Regions from separate parts of the Homo sapiens genome. Here regions 2 and 3 are each linked to region 1. Evidence: promoter capture Hi-C in 16 types of primary human blood cells and fetal thymus (Javierre and others, 2016). All regions are on one chromosome and are shown on one strand. Each heading gives the region's core, a stretch centred on a gene start or on the middle of the fragment in contact. The rest is flanking DNA. Distances are from core to core; before and after follow the strand shown. Region 1 holds the start of TSPAN14 (tetraspanin 14). Region 2 overlaps CCSER2 (coiled-coil serine rich protein 2). Region 3 overlaps GHITM (growth hormone inducible transmembrane protein).

Region 1 (2,744 bases), core at 134-2,633:
TCCAGCACTCTGGGAGGCAGAGGCGGAAGGATTGCTTAAGCCCAGGAATTTAAGACCATCACTGGCAACACAGCAAGATCTCGTCTCTACAAAAAAAAAAAAAAAAAAATTAGCTAGGTGTGGTGGCCTGCACCTGTGGTCCCAGCTACTTGGGGAAGCTGAGGCGGGAGGTCGAGGCTGCAGTGAGCCATGGTCATGCCACTGCACTCCAGCCTGGGTGACAAAGCGATACCTTAGCTCAAAAAACAACCCAAACAAACCTGGGAATGGACTGAACAGTCTCCATTTCAAGATTTCCTCCTTCCATTGGAATTAACCTGTTGGTTGCTTGTACTGGCATGTGGCAACCAGTCTTAGCCCAGTTTTAATAGATCCCTGTTTGGTGTTACTCAACAGAGAAGACCACTCGGCCCTCAGCCACCGAATAAGTTTAAGAAACAGAGGTGTGGCATGCTTCATTCTACAGGTAGGGAGGCTGAGGCTGGGGAGCCGCCCCTGGCTATCCCTGGAAACCCCTCTACCCCACAGGAATCGTCCCAGCCATCTCTTTAGCGTAAAGGTGAGGAACAAATCTCAGCCACGATCCAAAGAGGGGCGCCACCCCTGGCTGTCCCTGGAAACCCCCCTACACCACAAGAATCGTCCCAGCCACCTCTTTAGCGTAAAGGTTAGGAAGAAATCTCAGCCACGATCCAAAGAAAGCTTGGTATTTTTAGCACCAAGGCCAGAAGGAGCGTGTCCTTACTCCTTGGTTTACAAAGAAATAAAAACCTTTTCCCCATCCTTCTTTTGATTGAAGACTACCCCCGCCCCCAGGCTCCAAAGCCGGGCAGGAACGCCTCTTATCTCCACCACAGCCATTTTCCTAATCCTTCGCCCGCTCTCCACGGTCATCCCGTGTATCCCTCGAGACGCCGCCTCCCACAGCTCGTGCTTCTCCCAGGTTCGGCTCCGACAAGGCCAGAGCGGCGTCTGCGCAGCGCAACGGCTCAGAGCGCTCCCGGCGGCTACAAGTGCCCGGCCCCGGGCCAGGCCCGGCCTGCGCCGCGCACCCACTGGGAGGGCGCGGACCGGGGCCGCCCCAAGCCTCCGGCACCGCCCAGAGCGGGACAAAGGGGCGGGCCGGCGACCCGGCCTCGCGGTCCCCGGTGCCGCGCGGGCCGGGAGGCGGGGTGCGGTGGGGGAGGGGCGAGGCGGCTGGGGGAGGGGCGGGGCCAGGGCGGGCCCAGGCGCCCGGGGCCGCACCGGGCGGCGCAGGGAAGCGGCGCCCCTTCCTCGGCAGACGGCAGGCGCCGCGCCTCCGGCCCCGCCCCTCCGCGCCCCTCCGCGCCCCGCCCCCGCCGCTCGGACGGCCCGAGTCGCGCCCTCCCGCCCCGCGCCGCGGAACTTGCTCTAACTTCCTCGGCCGAGCCGGGCCGCGCCGCCGCTGCCGCCGCCGCGCGCGGGTGAGTAGAGCGCGGAGACCTGGCTGGGGCGTCGGGCCCTGCCCCTTTCTTTGTCTGAGGCCGACTTCCCCGAGCGTTCTCCGGGGGCGAGGGCTGCTCCTTAGGTCCCTGTTTGGCCCCTCAGCCTCCCTCCCCGCCTGCCCAGGAGCGGCCCCGCGGGCGGCGCTGGCTTTGTCTGCCAGGATTGCTCGCTAGAGGTTGGAGGCCTCCGCCGGGACCCCGCTGAGCCGAACTCCGGCGCCGCGCGGACGAGAGCCGCGGCGGGCCCGGGGCCGGCACTCCTGGTTCGGTAGCCCTCGCCCCATCAGCGCGCCCCGGCGAGTGCGCGCCCGTGCCGGGCGGGGTGAGGGCGACGGGAGCCTGGACGGCCGCTGCTGCTCGGGGCTCTGCTTCTCGTCCCCAGCAGCGAGCTCGGGGATGGGCCACCCTTTCGGCTCAGTCACCCACCCTCGGCTCCCAGGAGATCGGGTCCGGGGTGGGGGTGGGCGTAGGCCGGGGCGGGCCGCCCCTTCCTCCTGCCCCGCCGTGGTTGTGCTCAGTCTCCCACGCCGCCGTGGGTCCCACTCTGCCCGGCTTGGGTTTGGGACGGCCGGAGTTTGAGTAGGCGGTGACCCAGCTTCTCCGCGTTAGTCGTGTGGGGTTGTGTTTGGGAGCAAAGCCTGACCCCTGACCTAGCCGGAGTTCTGGTAGAGTGAGGTTTGTGGCTGCGGACTGTGCTTGTCCCGGGCCGCTGCTGCTTCTCCTCCACCCCCAGGGGTGGGGTGCGGGTGGGTAGGAAGTGCCTGTGTGAGGGTGTGTGGAGGGACTTTGGCCCTGGGACCGCAGGAGCACTTGTCTTGGGGACTTAAAGTTGATCTCCGGCGAGAAACAGTCCGTGCTAGGGGGAGTCGGGGGAAGTCGTGGGCCCGGGTACTGGCCTGGGGCTGGGCGCAGAGCGGTGGTGAGTGCGGCGGTGTCACACACTCGTTGGCTGTGCTGGCGCTGCTATCCGGGAGGTCAGGCGGTGCTGGGCGGCTGTGCAGAGCATTGTATTGGAGCCTCTGCAGGTGTGCTCTTGGCAGTGGTCTGCTCTCCAGGGGATCTTCCTCCCTTCCGAGAGGGAGTTGCTCTTGGGCTAGTGAGAGAGTGGCCTGCCAAATCCTCAAAAGTAGCCTTCCCCTTGCCCCTTGACCTTGAAGTCCAGAAGCAGTTAGTGCCTGCTGAGTGCTCCGGCCACCCTTCTCTATTTGTGAAGGGAAACCTGGGGACAGGCCATCGGAGCACCCCTATGTCCTTGCCACATTTCAGCTAGCCGAGTGG
Region 2 (2,744 bases), core at 132-2,631, 3.9 Mb after region 1:
CAGCAACCCTAGGAGGTAGGTTCTTTTAGTATCCTCATTTTGTGGATATGAAAATATAGAGACTGTGACCTGCCAAGGATAACATAGGTAGTAAGCATTGGAACTGGAACTCAGTCAGCCTGCTTTTAAAAGATGCTATTTCAAAAGTATTATCTTATTATCCATGCCAAGGATTTGGACTTCATTTCTTAGACATTGGAAAGATTAGGTGTTGCAAAGCAAGGGGATGATATGGTATGTTATCTCTTTTAGGGAGATTGCTCATGTGACAATGTGGCTATATATTGAATTATGTTTATAATAGGAAGTGGTTGAAATATTCATGTGAGAAATGAAGGCTAAACCTTGAGGTGGAAGTGGAGATCGGGATATTTTGGAAATATATAGGAATTAGTAACTGATACACAACAGAGTGGGAAGGCAGTGTATTGATTTGGAAGACATTGAGTGGGGTAATGACAGATGAATATGTGCTCACAGCACTTTGTTATATTTCTTTCACAGCGTTGACTGTGATGTATTGTACCTATTCTAGTAACATATCTGTCTCCCCCACTGGATTGTGTGCTTGTCAAAGATAGGGACTGAGTAGAGGAATGAGTGAATATAGGATGAAATAATACAGAAAGGTCAAGAGACTGAACTGGGAAACACCAAATTACCAAAATGAAAGAGTGGGTGGAGGAAGAGTAGCTCTAGAATGTGACAGCTGTCAGGGAGGATGGGGGAAGAGCCATCAGGGAGGAGGCAGAGGGGTAGGGAAGTATTAGCACAGACATGAGCATGTAGAATGCTGCCACCTCAGGCTACAAACAGTTGTGGTTGGTGTGCCCTGCTGTCATAAGCTGATTGTGGTTGTATAGGGTGAACTTGTCTTTCCGTTGTTATTGACTACTTAAGTTTTCTCTGAGTATCTGATGGCTTTCTGCCTCTTTGGCTTCTGACTTCTGCTTGCTACAGGTGCTGATGCTGGGGTGTGATTCAGCCTATTGAGATCAACCAATGAGAACAGTCCTTTCTTTTTAAGTGAATTGACCAATCATAGTATGTGAGATGTAATTTCTGAGTTTTTAGCTCTTCTCTGATGAGTTGATTGGTTTGGAATGTCCTAGAGTTACTTCTCTACCTTTAAAGACTTCTGGTTGATTATATTAAGGTTTGGAGCCATTGGGAAGCCAGAGGATTCTTAAAGGTTGGATCCATGAGCACTGAAGTTTTTTACCTGTTTATTTTTTCAAGTTGATCAGTAGCTTAGTTTCAGTATAGTTGGATCATCTTTGAAGACTGTTGGTCTTAAAAATGCCACAGATTATTCCAAATAATTAAGAATCTCTGTTTTCTTTGTACTTTATAGCTACGTAAGACAGGGGCTTGTTTTAAATTTTCTTGGTCAGCTCCTAACTTACTTCATATGTCTGTTTTTCAAAGAGTTACTTGGTAAAGGAATTTGCTATTGATTTTTTTCTACAACCATTTGCTTCAGGCCATCCTTACCCTCTGTTCTCTGCCTTCTCCTGTTTTCATCTACCCTGTTTCTGTCCTTGATAAGGACAGTGGGAAAGGGAAAAGAGAAAAAGCATGAGGGATTACTCCTTCCTTCCCTTTGTTATGGTAGTTGTTACTGCTCTCCTCCCTGCCATCGCTGCTCCCAGCTGTTCACTTTGGCATGGTCTCCTACCCTGTATCTTGAGTTCTGTGTGTGAGAATAGAAATGCAAGGCATGGCTCTTTAGCTGAGGAACGATGGGCATCTCAGGGTTTTGGTCCTTCTGTGATCTCTCTTTTGGTGCCTGGTATTGAAAAGCCCAGTGACATCTTGTATCTGAGCAAGTGTTTTCTGTTCCCCAGCATTCTACTTCTCTCTCTCTCTTTTTTTTTTTTTTTTTTTTTTTGAGACAGGGTCTCTGGACCCAGGCTGGAGTGCAGTGGTGTCATCATGGCTCACTGCAGCCTTGACCTCCTGGGCTCTAGCTATCCTCCTGCCTTGGCTTCCCAACCTGTACTCAACCTGTAGCTGGGACTACAGGCATGTACCACCATGCCTGGCTAATTTTAAAAATTTTCCATAGAGACAGGGTCTCCCCATGTTACCCAGGCTGGGCTGAAACTCCTGGGCTCAAATGACCCTCCTGCTTTTACCTCCCAAAGTGCTGGGATTACAGGTGTGAGCCACCACAACTGGCCCTGCTTTTCTTTAAAATGCAAAATTAAATTCCAGTCCTGTTTTTTTGAGTTGCCTACCCTCCTCCCCAACACTGCCCCCATGTCAAGATTGCAAAACCTTTGATGACGAAGGCCCTAGTGAATACGCTAGGGACAAAGAAGCAAGACAGATACCAGAAGGTACTTTGAATTGTTGTTGTCATCATATTAATGATATTTCGTTGCAGCCTGAGTGCTTTAGGGCAATTTGAGAGCTTTCTCTGACCATTATCTCTTGGCAGCCAGTGTTAGGGTTGGGAGTTATATAATAATTTTCTCTGAAGATCTTAGCTTAGAAAAACAGGGACTATTCATAATAGCTATTTAAGTCTGTAGAATGGACTTGATGATATTTTGGTCAGAGTTGGTAGGCCACTTTATAGGAAACATCCAGGTGATATTTCTTTTCGGGGTGGGGAGGCAGGGATGGCCATCTTTCTGTTTTGTTTTGTTTCTTTTCCTTATTTAAAATTTTTTCTCAGGTATATTTTCCTCATTTTAGGAGTAGTATGGTATGGCTTGTCAACCTTTATTTATTATTGG
Region 3 (2,744 bases), core at 183-2,682, 3.7 Mb after region 1:
GGAAAACCTAATTTCAGAGGTGACTTACAATCCCATTAGAGGGAAATTCAAGTGTTTGAGGTCTGGAGGGTAAAGAAGACGTGGTTAGAAAGGATACAGTTGTCAAGCTGAGGAGAGAACCTAAGCAGTCGGAGGCCATTGGAGATACTGGAACAACAAAAGCGTGATTTATATTTGAGTTTTTAGAACCAATGTGGAAGAGACATGGAGCAGGTGTACCAGCTGTGCCTTTGTAAGATCTGAAATGAGGGATGATAAGAACCTGAACTAGAGCAGAGTGTGATACTGGAGGGGAAGGAGAGTTCATGTAACACTGATTCCCCACATAGGGACGAAAACCATATTATTTTCACTGTGTTGTACTTTACTAAAGGATAACCATTTACAGTAGCAGCCATTTGGATATTTATATATTCTTAGGATCATGCTTTTTCACATAGACGTCATGAATCTCCCAGCCCAGAGGTTCACAAAGGCACAGAATGTTTCACTGGGGATGTCAGTTTTAATCAGAAGCAAATAATTTAAAACAATACTTTTGTAATAAACATGACAATATTTACCTAAAATTTTAGGCCCTAAAATGAGGCTTCAAAGAAGTTTTGTGTTTGGGCCATATCCTCAGTCCCTTCTGGGCAAAAGATTACCCTCTTCCACTGTTAGTAATACAGAAAATAGGAAAGCCAAAGACAAGTGTTACAGAGATGAAGATGTAACCTTTTGGGTGTGACAGACATATATATACAAACACACACATAGACACACAGATAATGTCAAAGTTTGTCCCAAGTGCATCTGAGGAGAGGTATCTGATCTTGCTCTTGGGCAGCCAGGGTACCTACTAGAAAAAGCTTTTGAGATGAGACAGTACCAGAGTAAGTCGACCAGATATGGAAGGAGATATTCTTAGGCATGATGGATTGAATTAAGGAGGCCTGAAATTTTGGGGCATGTTGGCAGCTGTGCCAGTTCCGTATGGTTGGAATGCAGAGTTTGGAGTGAGACTGGATCATAGAAGATCTTAAAAAAATTTAATTGCTGCTGTCCACAGAGGATGTGTGAAATAGTTTGTAGTAATTATTTCTCGTTAGAAAATGGTGGAGTGGAGCTCGATATGCTTTTCTTTTCTTTTTAATGTTTTTTAAAAATAGAGACTAGATCTCTATGTTTGCCTAGGCTTGGCTTAAATTCCCAGGCTCAAGTGGTCCTTTCACCTCAGCCACCCAAGTAACTGACATTACAGGTCCATACCACTACACCCAGCTCAGTATGCTTTTTCATGTTAAGGTTTTCCCATTCTTGGCAAAACCAGCTATTTGGTTTACCTGTACTTTATATTAGAGGTTGAATATTTTGATGTTCATAGGTGAGACAGATAATACAGATGAGTGAGGAGGCCTAGTGTGTCACACAGGAGATTGTTGACATCTAGAGGTTACTGACATCTAGAGTTAACCTTTTCAACTAAAACCATTCACCATGTTCTTTTTTTTTGTTTGTTTTTTTAAACATAGTTTGCCAAACAAAACATCTGTGGCCTGATTCCAAGGGCTACAAGTTTGCAATCTCTGATTTAAATTTCTTGGAGATTAGCACCATCTTATTTCCATTACATGTTAATACATTCTTCTTGTCATACACAAGCAATATTTAATTATAACACTGGAAATCTAAGATAGGCAAAGAAAAGGAATGAGGACCAAATTAGCCATAAACCTGGAAGGGTAGAAGTGTAGAATCTTATTTCTCATTTTTCTTTTCCATGTGCTGTGATAATCTACTTTCTATTTTTCAAGTCTTCATTTAGCAAATATGGAGTTCAAAGTGATGTGCTATATATATTTTTTTTAAAAATTACTAATTTGTAAGCATCACTGATTTTAAAGAAAATGCTATTTGTGCTATACAAAAATATATTTTTTAATTAAGAGTTAATTATCTTGGGATCCCTAAAGGGTTTTTGTTTCACCTCTGTCCAACAAGAGTAAAATTGTTAAAAGATGTGTTGCCAGTTCAAGCTTAAGACATGCATTTGAAGCTGTCTGCAAAACCTCATATATGGCAGTAGGGGGCACTCGTGCTAACTTAGCCAAAACTCTGAAATAAACCCAGAGCTTTTAATGTGCCAGAAAAATTAAAGTTTTTATTTTTTATTTTTTATTTTTTATTTTTTTATTTTGAGATGGAGTCTCGCTCTGTCACCCAGGCTAGAGTGCAGTGGCACGATCTTGCCTCATTGCAACCTCCACCTCCCGGGTTCAAGTGATTTTCCCACCTCACTCAGCCTCCCAAGTAGCTGGGACTACAGGCGCGCACCACTGCGCCTGGCTAATTTTTGTATTTGTAGTAGAGACAGGGTTTCACCAGTTAGCCAGGCTGGTCTCAAACTTCTGACCTCAGGTGATCCACCTGCCCCAGCCTCCCAAAGTGCTGGGATTGCAGGCGTGAGCCACCACGCCTGGCCTTAAGCTTTGATTTATTATCTTTAATATTTTTACAACTAGTTTATTAGAAGTAACTAATTGTACTTCAAACCTGTGGGTTTCTGCTTTGTTTTCATATAAAGATCAGTTTTTCTTAATAGTACTTGTCTTTCAGACAATTGGTGTGACCTTTGCAGCCATGGTTGGAGCTGGAATGCTGGTACGATCAATACCATATGACCAGAGCCCAGGCCCAAAGCATCTTGCTTGGTTGCTACATTCTGGTATGTTCTGTTTTAAATTGTTACGAGACAACCTTGA

Evidence for each region. The method cuts DNA at HindIII sites, captures the fragments that hold promoters and counts their contacts. A CHiCAGO score of 5 or more calls a contact.
Region 2: a fragment that was not itself captured here is called in contact with the fragment with the promoter of TSPAN14 in region 1 in 2 of 17 cell types (total CD8 T cells and activated CD4 T cells); the score reaches 5.6 in total CD8 T cells.
Region 3: a contact is called between a fragment that was not itself captured here and the fragment with the promoter of TSPAN14 in region 1, in 3 of 17 cell types (naive B cells, total CD8 T cells and naive CD8 T cells). The highest score is 6.2, in naive B cells.

Annotation. Positions count from the first base shown.
Region 1 is chr10:80,452,927-80,455,670 of GRCh38, forward strand. TSPAN14 (tetraspanin 14) reads left to right here and starts at 1,384. Exons shown (of 9, transcript NM_030927.4): 1 at 1,384-1,445. RefSeq lists enhancers at 740-949, 1,693-2,210, 2,160-2,419, 2,450-2,499 and a silencer at 980-2,029. The HindIII fragment of the contact is 5,289 bases long and covers 701-2,744 here.
Region 2 is chr10:84,333,361-84,336,104 of GRCh38, forward strand. The region is part of intron 1 of CCSER2 (coiled-coil serine rich protein 2); the gene reads left to right. Among named protein-coding and RNA genes, the nearest start is that of CCSER2, 6.1 kb to the left of the region's middle. RefSeq lists an enhancer at 597-646. The HindIII fragment of the contact is 3,683 bases long and covers 1-2,744 here.
Region 3 is chr10:84,146,132-84,148,875 of GRCh38, forward strand. It overlaps GHITM (growth hormone inducible transmembrane protein), which reads left to right. Exons shown (of 9, transcript NM_014394.3): 6 at 2,599-2,707. Among named protein-coding and RNA genes, the nearest start is that of GHITM, 8.0 kb to the left of the region's middle. The HindIII fragment of the contact is 1,167 bases long and covers 850-2,016 here.